Linked DNA regions of Homo sapiens: region 1 is linked to region 2. Evidence: promoter capture Hi-C in human tissues and cell types (Jung and others, 2019). All regions are on one chromosome and are shown on one strand. The core of a region is centred on a gene start or on the middle of the fragment in contact, and the rest is flanking DNA. Distances in the headings are between cores, read along the strand shown. Region 1 has its middle 28 kb from the start of NORAD. Region 2 holds the start of CNBD2 (cyclic nucleotide binding domain containing 2).

What was found. Contacts are between HindIII fragments. The study calls those that stand out against the background at their distance.
Region 1: a fragment that was not itself captured here is called in contact with the fragment with the promoter of CNBD2 in region 2 in 4 of the 25 tissues and cell types used here (IMR-90 fibroblasts, dorsolateral prefrontal cortex, lymphoblastoid cells and 1 more).

Annotation. Positions count from the first base shown.
Region 1 is chr20:36,076,087-36,081,321 of GRCh38, reverse strand. It overlaps the pseudogene HMGB3P2. Among named protein-coding and RNA genes, the nearest start is that of NORAD, 28 kb to the right of the region's middle. The HindIII fragment of the contact is 7,705 bases long and covers 1-5,235 here.
Region 2 is chr20:35,965,236-35,970,793 of GRCh38, reverse strand. It overlaps CNBD2 (cyclic nucleotide binding domain containing 2), which reads right to left and starts at 2,204. Exons shown (of 12, transcript NM_001365709.1): 1 at 1,981-2,204. The coding sequence starts at 2,031. It also overlaps the pseudogene LOC124904982. The HindIII fragment of the contact is 12,223 bases long and covers 1-5,558 here.

The DNA of each region.
Region 1 (5,235 bases), core at 445-2,944, 110 kb before region 2:
GCCCTCACCCCATTGATCTTGGCCTTCCCAACCTCCAGAACTGTGAAAAATAAGTTTCTGTTGCGTATAAGATACTCAGTCTAAAGTATTTCGTGATAGCAGCCCAAATAAATGAAGACAATTGCCATGATAAACACCAACTTCACGGTAGTGGCCACTTCTGGGTAGAGAGGGAGGGGAATGGGATGGAAGAACAGTACATAGGAAATTGCAATGGTATTTGTAACAGTTTTTTTCTGGAATTAGGTAGTATGTACATGGGTGCCTACTATCATATACTGTACTTTTTCTTGAGATATAATTAACATATAAAATTAATCATTTTAAAGTGTGCAATTTAGTTGGTTTTTAGTATATCCACAAAGTTGTGAAACCATCACCACTCTCTAATTCCAGAACATTTCATCACCCCCAAAAAGAAATCCCATGCCTATTGAAACTGCCTTTGCAAAATTATGACTGAGACAGTGAAAGAGATCTAACTTAATCGACTCTACATGCTTCTAACCTCCAAGCTGTCCTTGTTCATTCCTAGGCATAGACTGAACTAACTTTGGGAGAAACTTAGTTTATAGTTTTTATAGGTTTTTTTTGTTTTTGTTTTGATACGGAGTCTCACTCTGTCACCCAGGCTGGGGTTCAATGGCATGACCTCGGCTCACTGCAACCTCCACCTCCTGGGTTCAAGCGATTCTTCTGCCTCAGCCTCCTGAATAGCTGGGATTACAGGTGCCCACCACCACACCCGGTTAATTTTTGTATTTTTGGTAGAGGCAGCATTTCACCATGTTGGCCAGGCTGGTCTCAAACTCCTGACCTCAAGTGATCCACCTGCCTCAGCCTCCCAAAGTGCTGGGATTACAGGCATGAGCCACCGTGCCTGGACGTAGTTTATAGTTTAAAACAAAGACGATAACAGCCCTTTCCAAAAGCAGACCTCTTTCTTGCCTGGAGACTAGATTGCCTTCGTAGGACTAATATTAGCCATAAGATTAGAAATTAAGGTTTAGGAGTCATGCAGCTGGAGGCTACAAGATTCTGACCCTCTCTAAACTGCTCCTAAGATCAATGCTTGAGATATTTTGCAGACCTGCACTTGATGGATCAGCTGGCACCACCCAGATTGATAAACTGGCTCATCTGATCTCGTGACCCCCATCCAGGAAGTGACTCAGCTCAAGAAGACAGCTTCGACTCCCTGTGATTTCATCCCTGACCATTCAGCACTCCTGGCTCACTGGCTTCCCCCAACCCACCAAGTCGTCCTTAAAAATTCTGCTCCCCGAATGCTTGGGGAGACTGATTTGAGTAATTATAAAACTCTGGTATCCCGCACAGCCGGCTCTGCATGAATTACTCTTTCTCTATTGCAATTTCTCTGTCTTGATAAATCGGCTCTGTCTTGGCAGTGGGCAAGGTGAGCACACTGGGCAGTCACACTATTAACCGTTATTCCCCATTCCCAACTTCCTACTATCCCTTGGCAACCACTAATCTACTTTCTGTCTTGATTTATTCATATAAATGGATCATACAATATATGTTATTTTGTGATTGGTTTCCCTCATTTAGCGTAAGATTTTCAAGGTTCATCCATGTTGTAGTGTGAATCAGTGTTATTCCTTTTTATGGCTGAATAATAGTCCACTGTATGGATATACCACATTTTGTTTAGCTATTCGTCAGTGGATGGACATCTGGGTTGTTTCTACCTGCTGGCTATAAGAAATAATAACACGATAAACATTGTGTACAAGTTTTTGTGTGAACGTACATTTTCTTTCTTTTTTTTTTGAGACGAAGTCTCATTCAGTCACCCAGGCTGGAGTGCAGTGGTGCAATCTCGGCTCACATCTCAGCTCACTGCAAGCTCTGCCTCCCGAGTTCAAGTGATTCTTCTGCCTCAGCCTCCCGAGTAGCTGGGAGGCATGCACCAACACTCCTGGCTAATTTTTTTGTATTTTTAGTAGAGATGGGGTTTCACCATGTTGGCCAGGCTGGTCTCAAACTCCTGACCTCAGGTGATCCACCCACCTCGGTCTCTCAAAATGCTGGGAATACAGGCGTGAGCCACCACAGCCAGTGCCCCCCACCTCCCTTTTTTTTTTTTTTTTTTTTTTTTTTTTGAGACGGAGTTTTGCTCTTGTTGCCCAGGCTGGAGTGCAATGGCGAGATCTCAGCTCACCGCAACCTCTGCCTCCCAGGTTTAAGTGATTCTCCTGCCTCAGCCTCCCGAGTAGCTGGGATTACATGCATGTGCCACCATGCCCAGCTAATTTTATATTTTTAGTAGAGATGGGGTTTCTCCATGTTGGTCAGGCTGGTCTCAAACTCCTGACCTCAGGTGATCCGACCACTTCGGCCTCTCAAAGTGCTAGGATTACAGGCATGAGCTACCATGCCCAGCCTCCATTTTTGTTTTGTTTTGTTTTTTGTGTTTTTGTTTGTTTGTTTTGAGACAGTGTCTCACTCTGTCGCCCAGGCTAAAGTGCAGTGGCGTGATCTCTGCTCACTGCAACCTCCATCTCCCTGGTTCAAATGATTCTCCTGCCTCAGCCTCCCGAGTAGCTGGGCTTACAGGTGCCTGACACCACGCCCAGCTAATTTTTGTATTTTTAGTACAGACGGGGTTTCATCTTGTTGGCCAGGCTGGTCTCGAACTCCTGACCTCTAGTGATCTGCCCACCTTGGCTTCCCAAAGTGCTGGGATTACAGGCGTGAGCCACTGTGCCCCGCCTATGAACATACATTTTCATTTCTCTTGGATATACGCCTAGCAGTGGAATTGCTGGGTCATGTGGTAACTCTGTTTTACTTTTTGAAGAACTTCAAAGCAGCGATACTATTTGACAGTCCCCCAGCAATATATGAAGGTTCACTTTCTTCACATCCTTACTAACATTTTTTTTTGAAACGGAGTCTTGCTTTGTCACTCAGGCTGGAGTGCAGTGGCTCGATTTCTGCTCACTGCAACCTCTGCCTCCCCGGTTCAAGTGATTCTCCTGCCTCAGCCTCCTGAGTAGCTGGGATTACAGGCGCACACCACCATGCCCAGCTAATTTTAAAAATATTTTTAGTAGAGACAGGGTTTCACCATGTTGGTGAACATGATGAGAACATTTCCAGGGGAAAACCATTTCCCTTCTGGCTCCCCAACTCCCCCATCTGCTGAGAGCTAGTTCTACTCAATAAAACCTTGCACTCATTCTCCAAGCCCACATGTGATCCAGTTCTTCCAGGTACAACAAGGCAAGAAACCCCAGGATACAGAAATCCCTCTGTCCTTGTGGTAAGGAAGGGGGTTTAATTGAGCTGGTTAACACAAGCCGCCTATAGATGGCAACCTAAAAGAGCACCCTATAACACACGCCCATTGGGGCTTCAGCTGTAAACATTCACCCCTAGACACTGCTGTGGGGTCGGAGCCCCACAGCCTGCCCATCTGTATGCTCCCCTAGAGGTTTGAGCAGCAGGGCACTGAAGAAGCAAGCCACACCCCCATTGCACACCCTTCGAGGGTTCCTGTTTCACCGTCTCTACAAAAAATTTTTAAATATTAGCCAGGTGTGGTGGTGTGTGCCTGTAGTCCTAGCTACCCAGGAGGCTGAGGTGGGAGGATCACTTGTGCCTGGGAGGTTGAGGCTGCAGTGAGCTATGATCCCAACACTGTACTCTGTCTCAAACAAACAAACAAAAATAAATACAAACGTTGTATGATTCCACTCATATGAAGTATCTAGAATAGGTAAATTCGTAGAGACAGAAATTAAAATAAATAGAGGTTACCAGAGGCTGAGGGAAGGGGAAAATGGGGAATGTTGTTTAATGGGTACAGAGTGTCTGTTTGGGATGATGAAAAAGTTCTGGAAATAGGAAGTGGTGATGATTACACTACTTTGTGAATGAACTTAATGTCACTGAATTGTATACTTAAAAATAGTTAAAATGGGTGAGGTGTGGTGGCTTACGTCTGTAATCCCAGCACTTTGGGAGGCCAAGGCTGGCAGATTACCTGAGATCGGGAGTTCGAGACCAGCCTGTCCAACATGGCGAAACCCCGTCTGTACTAAAAATACAAAAATTAGCTGGGCGTGGTGGCCCGTGCCTGTAATCCCAGCTACTCGGGAGGCTGAGGCAGGAGAATCGCTTGAAACCGGGAGGCGGAGGTTGTGGTGAGCCGAGATCGCACCACTGCACTCCAGCCTGGCGACAGAGGGAGGCTCTGTCTCAAAAAAAAAATTTTTTTTAAGTTTGCCGGGTGTGGTAGCTCACACCTGTAATCCCAGCACTTTGGGAGGCCGAGGCAGGCGGATCACGAGGTCAGGAGATTGAGACCATCTTGGCTAGCACAGTGAAACCCCGTCTCTACGAAAAATACAAAAAATTAGCCGGGCGTGGTGGCGGGTGCCTGTAGTCCCAGCTACTCGGGAGGCTGAGGCAGAAGAATGGCGTGAACCCAGGAGGCAGAGCTTGCAGTGAGCCGAGATCGCGCTACTGCACTCCAGCCTGGGTAACAGAGCGAGACTCCCTCTCAAAAAATAAAAAATAAAAAAAAAGTTAAAATGGGGCCGCCACCGCAGCGCCTGCAGAACTTTCGGGCCACGTCGCCGCCTCCTGCTGCTTCGCCTCCCAGGGCCCTCCCTCTCCTCCCCACGCCCTTCACTCCCCTCCGCCTTCCCTCCTGCTAGGCGGCCGGGAAGGAAGAAGAAATTCAGTCAGGATGGCTAAAGGTGACACCAAGAAACCAAAGGGAAAGATGTCTGCTTATGCCTTCTTTGTGCAGATGTGCAGAGAAGAACATAAGAAGAAAAACCCAGAGGTCCTTGTCAATTTTGCAGAATATTCCAGGAAGTGCTCCGAGAGGTAGAAGACCATGTCTGGGAAAGAGAAGTCTAAATTCAATGAAATGGCAAAGGCGGATAAAGTACACTATGATCGGGAAATGAAGGATTATGGACCAGCTAAAGGAGGCAACAAGAAGGATCCTAATGCCCCAAAAGGCTACTGTCTGGATTCTTCCTGTTCTGTTCAGAATTCTGCCCCGAGATCAAATCCACAAACCCTGGCATCTCTATTGGAGACGTGGCAAAAGAAAAAAAAAAGTTGGGTGAAATGTGGAATAGCTTAAATGACAGTGAAAAGCAGCCTTACTTCACTAAGGCGGCAAAGCTGAAGAAGTATGAGAAGGATGTTTCTGACTATAAGGCAAAAGGAAAGTTTGATGGTGCAAATGGT
Region 2 (5,558 bases), core at 955-3,454:
CAATGAGCTATGATCGTGCCACTGCACTCCAACCTGGGTAACAGAGCAAGACCCTGTAACAACAACAACAAAATGAAACAAACAAACAAACAAACAGCTCTGGCACAATGGCTCATGCCTGCAATCCTAGCACTTTGGGAGGCCAAGGTGGGCTGATCACTTGAGACCAGGAGTTTGAGACTAGTCTGGCCAACATGGTGAAATCCCATCTGCACTAAAAAAAACAAAAATTAGCCGGGCGTGGTGGTGGGCGCCTGTAATCCCAGCTACTCAGGAGGCTGAGGCACCAGGAGCACTTGAACCTGGGAGGTGGAGGTTGCAGTGAGCTGAAATTGCGCCACTGCACTCCAGCCTGGGCAACAGAGTGAGACTCTGTCTCAAAAAAATAAATAAAAACAAACAAAGGAAAAAAGAGAATGTTCTTTTTAAAGTGTATCATAAACAAAGTGAGACAACGAACTACAGACTGGAAAAATATACTTACTATGCATATAATCAACAAAGGATTACGATCCAAAATTTATTTTTTGTAATCCTACAAATCAAAAGAAAAATACAAATAACCCAATAGCAAAATGAGCAAAGGTAATTCAAAGGGAAAGTTCAAATTACCTATAAATTGTGAAAATATTGTTTTTATTCATTTGTATTTATATTTACATTGTTTGTAAAGAGGGGGTTTCACTTTGTTGCCCAGGCTGGTTTCCAACTCTGGCTTCAAGTGATCCTTCCACCTCAGCCTCCCAAAGTGCTGGGATTACAGGCATGAGCCTTCATGCCCCAGCCAAATTGTGAAACCATTTTTAACATTGCTAGAAATAATGGAAATGGAAATTAAAGTAATAACATGATACTATTTTGCACTTATCACTGGGAACTGGGAAACATGGTACAACCATGTTGAAGAGCAATTTGGCAACATTATATAAAGTTGAGGATGTGTGTACTTCACAATGGAAGAATTGTATGTACTTTATATGTCCTCTTCAGAGAAACATACATGTACAAGGGGATAGCCATGAGGGTAATCATGGCAACATTGTGTGTAACAGTGAATGGCTGAAAACAAATGTTCATTAGTAGGGATCGAAGGGATCAATACATTATGGTTCAGTCACAGGATTGAACACAGCACTAAGTCTGTGTGTGTCAATGTGGATAAAGCTGAAATGATTTTGAGTGGGAAAAAAGAACTATGATGCTATTTATGGTATCATTTTTAAACAGTGTGCCACATACTATATATTGTTTATGGATACATACACATGTGATAATATATAAAAATATAAACAGGAAGGGTGACACCAACTTCAGGAAAGTGGTTACTATTAAAGAGAAATAAAGGGGCATGGGATGGTAAAGAGCTTTCCCTACACCTGTAATGTTCTATTTCTTAAAAATTAGATATCTATGGAAATATGGGGAAAGGTACTTTATGAATAAAATTAATACTTACTGAGTACAATTTACTATTGTCAGGCATTATCCAAAGCACTATTCTGATATGTAAATCATTTAATCAGTAAATTTATGCAGTAGGTACTAGTATTATCATCTCACTTTACAGAGGAGAAAATAAAGGCACAGCAAACCAAGCAACTTGCCTGGGGTCACATGACTAATAGGTGATAGGGATTTAAACCTAGGTAGTCTGGCTCCAGAGTTCACAAGCTTAACCTATGACTCAATGTTGCTACCCTGACTCTATCCTCCCTCGTTCTCTCTGGATCTCATAATAGCAGGAAGAGTGGGTACAGAACAGGACTCAGTGGCTCTGAGTGTGGCTTATGGCTTGCCCAGTGTGGGGGGCTGGTAGGCTACAGGGCAGGGGTCCCTCCTTTGTGCCATGCTGTGACTCCAAAAGGTACAGGATGGCCACCATTCATCCAAGACCCCTCCTACACCTGCATCGACCTTCCTCAAAACACCTGTCTGTTCAGTCTTCTGCTCTTCCCTCCCAGGGCCCTTGCCCCTCCTCACCAGTTCCTTCTTCAGGAGCTGCCAGGCATAAGTTACCATATGTCTCCTCATGGTTCCTGTGCAGGCAAATGGCACAACTAGCCCCTTTGCCTTTCAAGGGGAGGACTACAAATTTTTCCCCAAAAATCCAGTAATACTAGAAACAAATAGATTTCCTCAGTAACAAGGCAAGAGCTCCACTCCACTCCTCCTACCATACCATCAGCTACTGGAAGCCCTGCTCTGAGAAAAATCATTCTCAGAATCTCCTAAGGTCACAATGAAAGATTCTGGAGGCAGGGGACACAGGGATTGGAATGTGGGAGTCTAACATTTATGGGATACTCACAGGCATTATCTCAGCTAATCCTCACAACCACCCAAACTTTTACTCAACTCCATACATAGGAGACTGGGGCTCAAAGTAGCTAAATGGCTGCCAGAGTCCTGGTGAGACAGGAGAATGGCACAACCCTGCTGACCAAAACAGGATCTAGGACCCCCTAGCTGTCCCCATCCCTCATTAACATAAGACACTCCTACCAGTGCCATGACAGTGTACAAATGTCTTGGCAATGACCAGGAAGTTGCTACCTCTTTCCTAGAAAACTCTAAAAACCCACTCCTTAATTTGCATTAACCTGCCCCTTAATTTGCATTAGCCTGCCCCTTAATTTGCATGTGATTGAAAGTGGGTAGGAATGCGTATACTACACTTGATCTCAGCCAAAAGGCTGAGAAGGGATTAGAGATGAGCATAAATACAGTTGCCAACATCTCATACACTGGGTATCGACTCCGGATTCATTGCCCATGAGTTAGCCCTGCCCCACAAGGAGAAGCACTATTCAATAAAAGATTGCTGTCTAACACCACTGGCTCACCCTTGAATTCCTTCCTTGGGCAAAGCCAAGAACTCTCCTAAGCTAAGTCTCAATTTGGGGGCTCACCTGTCCTGCAAAGATAGGGCTTTTTTGTTTTTTGAGACACTGTCTCACTTTGTTCCCAGGATGGAGTGCAGTGGCCCAATCTCAGCTCACTGCAACCTCTGCCTCCCAAATTCAAGTGATTCTCCTGCCTCAGCCGCCCAAGTAGCTAGGATTACAGGCGTGTGCCACCATGCCCGGCTGATTTTTGTATTTTTAGTAAAGACAGGCTTTCACCACGTTGCCCAGGCTGGTCTCAAGCTCCTGACCTCAAGTGATCCACCCACCTCAGCCTCCCAAAGTGCCGGGATTACAGGCATAAACCACCACTCCTGGCCAGGGCCTTTTTTTTTTTTTTTTTTTTAAGAAAGCAGTGTAGCTAAATGTCAGGTACACTTGCTCTCCATTTGTAGCATCCAATTAACAGAAGCAAGGTCTGGTCCAGCCTGGCCAATGTGGTGAAACCCCATCCCTACTAAAAATACAAAAAAATTAGCCGGGTGAGGTGGTGGGCACCTATAATCCCAGCTACTCGGGAGGCTGAGGTGGGAGGATCACTTGAACCCGGGAGGCAGAGGTTGCAGTCAGCCAAGATTGTGCCACTGCACTCCAGCCTGAACGACAGAGCAAGACTCTGTCTCAAAAAAAAAAAAAAAAAAAAAAAAAAAAGCGGGAGGGGGAATTGGCATAAATGGCATGCAGAGGAGGGAATGAGCAGGTGGGAGTCTCCATGACTCACTTTGGTGCCTTATCTACCGCCTGGTCGAGCTGCCACCATCTTGGGCAGAACTAGGTTGTAAAGTGGCCTTGTCTCGAGATACTCTCCAGGTGGGGCAGAGTTTCCTGGCAGGCATACTTTTGGTTGTAAATTGACTATTGTCTCTCAAGGCAATCTGGTGGGAGAGGTTTCTACTCTGGAGCTTTTAAGTAAGCACACAGATACACTTGCTCTAGGAGTGTCTGGTGAAGGGAAAGCAAAAGGTTATAACTGCATTTCTAATCAGCTAAGTAGGAAGTGGGGAACAGAAGAAAAACACAAAAGAGAAAGAAGAAAAAGATGATTTAAAAAGATAACTCATTCTCTATCTCATAGAAAAATGGGTGTACTTTGTTACAGCGGGAGGCTTCTAGGCTGGGAGTAGGTTCATCCAGCACCTTAGCCCAGGGACCACTCTGAGACTTAGAACTTGGAGGCCCTGGAACGTGGGTGCATAGTACTGTCCCATAAGTCTGGTTAAATCAGGACAATAAAAAAAAAACTCAGCAAAACAGAAGACCTCACCCAAATCAAGTGTCAAATATTGAATGGAACTTGGTGACTAGAACTCAAATCTCTGGAGTCCTTCTAAAGATATAGAAAAATATAGGCTCTAAAGTGCTTTTTTCTATTAAAGATGACAATTGAGTATCTCAATTTGCTCTTGCACCAGGATCCTCAGTAGAAAACTGTGATTTCAAGCATCACCTGCTCTGCCATTCCTATCCCGTGGGGTATATCTGTTAACTCTCCTCCAACTGATAGGTAGACAGAAGGACACTGAGTTCAGCAAAGATGGCTGGACAGCTGAGAAGAAAGACAAAGGCCACTCTTGGGGTGGGACAGTAATCACACACAGAGGTGAGAAGGGACAAAACTGGTTTTTCCCCCATACCATGAGAAAAGATGTAAAGAATTCAGAGAGAGAAAGAAGAGAAAGTTTTAGAAAGAGAGACAGAGAGATGAGGTATGGAGTTTTTGCCTCCCCCACTGCAAACCTAGTCTTAAGGAAGGAAATATAAGAGGATCCCCTTCAAAAGTGTAGGGGGCTTCTGAAAGAAACAACTGGGCCTGGAGAAAGCAAGAGAGATGGTAGGAGATGGCTATAGGCAGGAAGGGTGTCCCGTCAGTCCTCTGAACTGCCTGAGGATCCAAGAGTGACAAGGAAAGTATCCAGGCTCACAAGGGGCATCAGATGATGCCAGTACGACCTGATGAGACCCCAAAAATGTTTACTGCCAACCTCACCTCTTGCCAGCTGTGGTTGTACAATTTCTCTAGGAATTAGATCAGCTTTGGGGAAGAAGAAGCAGGAAGTTTGGAGAGCTATGAATGGGCCCAAGATGAATCAATAAGCCTGAAATTATATCCACTCAAAATTACTGGATTGGATCTCAATTTACCTGAAGACATCCTAAATTCAATTATCTGCAAGGAGGTGGGCTGGGGATTCAGAGTCACACATTTAAGTCAGTTCTAGAAACTAAGAAAGTTTCATTTCTCTTACAGTTCCTGATTTTATAACTGTAACTATTACAGGGTAGAATGCCAAAAAGAGCACTGGTCCTATTCCTATGTGATCTTAGGTAAGTCACTTAACTACTTGGGGCCTCATTTTCATAATGTATAAAATGGAGTTCGATTCAATTCCACAAACAATTTATGAGAAGATTCGGCCAAGCGCGGTGGCTCATGCCTGCAATCCCAACACTTTGGGAGGCTGATGCGGGTGGATCACCTGAGGTCAGGAGCTCAAGGCCAGCTCGTCCAACATGGTGAAACCCAGTATCTACTAAAAATACAAAAACTAGCCCAGTGTGGTGGCATGCACCTGTAATCCCAGCTACTCGGGAGGCTGAGGCGGGAGCATCATCTGAGCCTGGGAGGCGCAGGTTGCAGTGAGCCAAGATTGCACC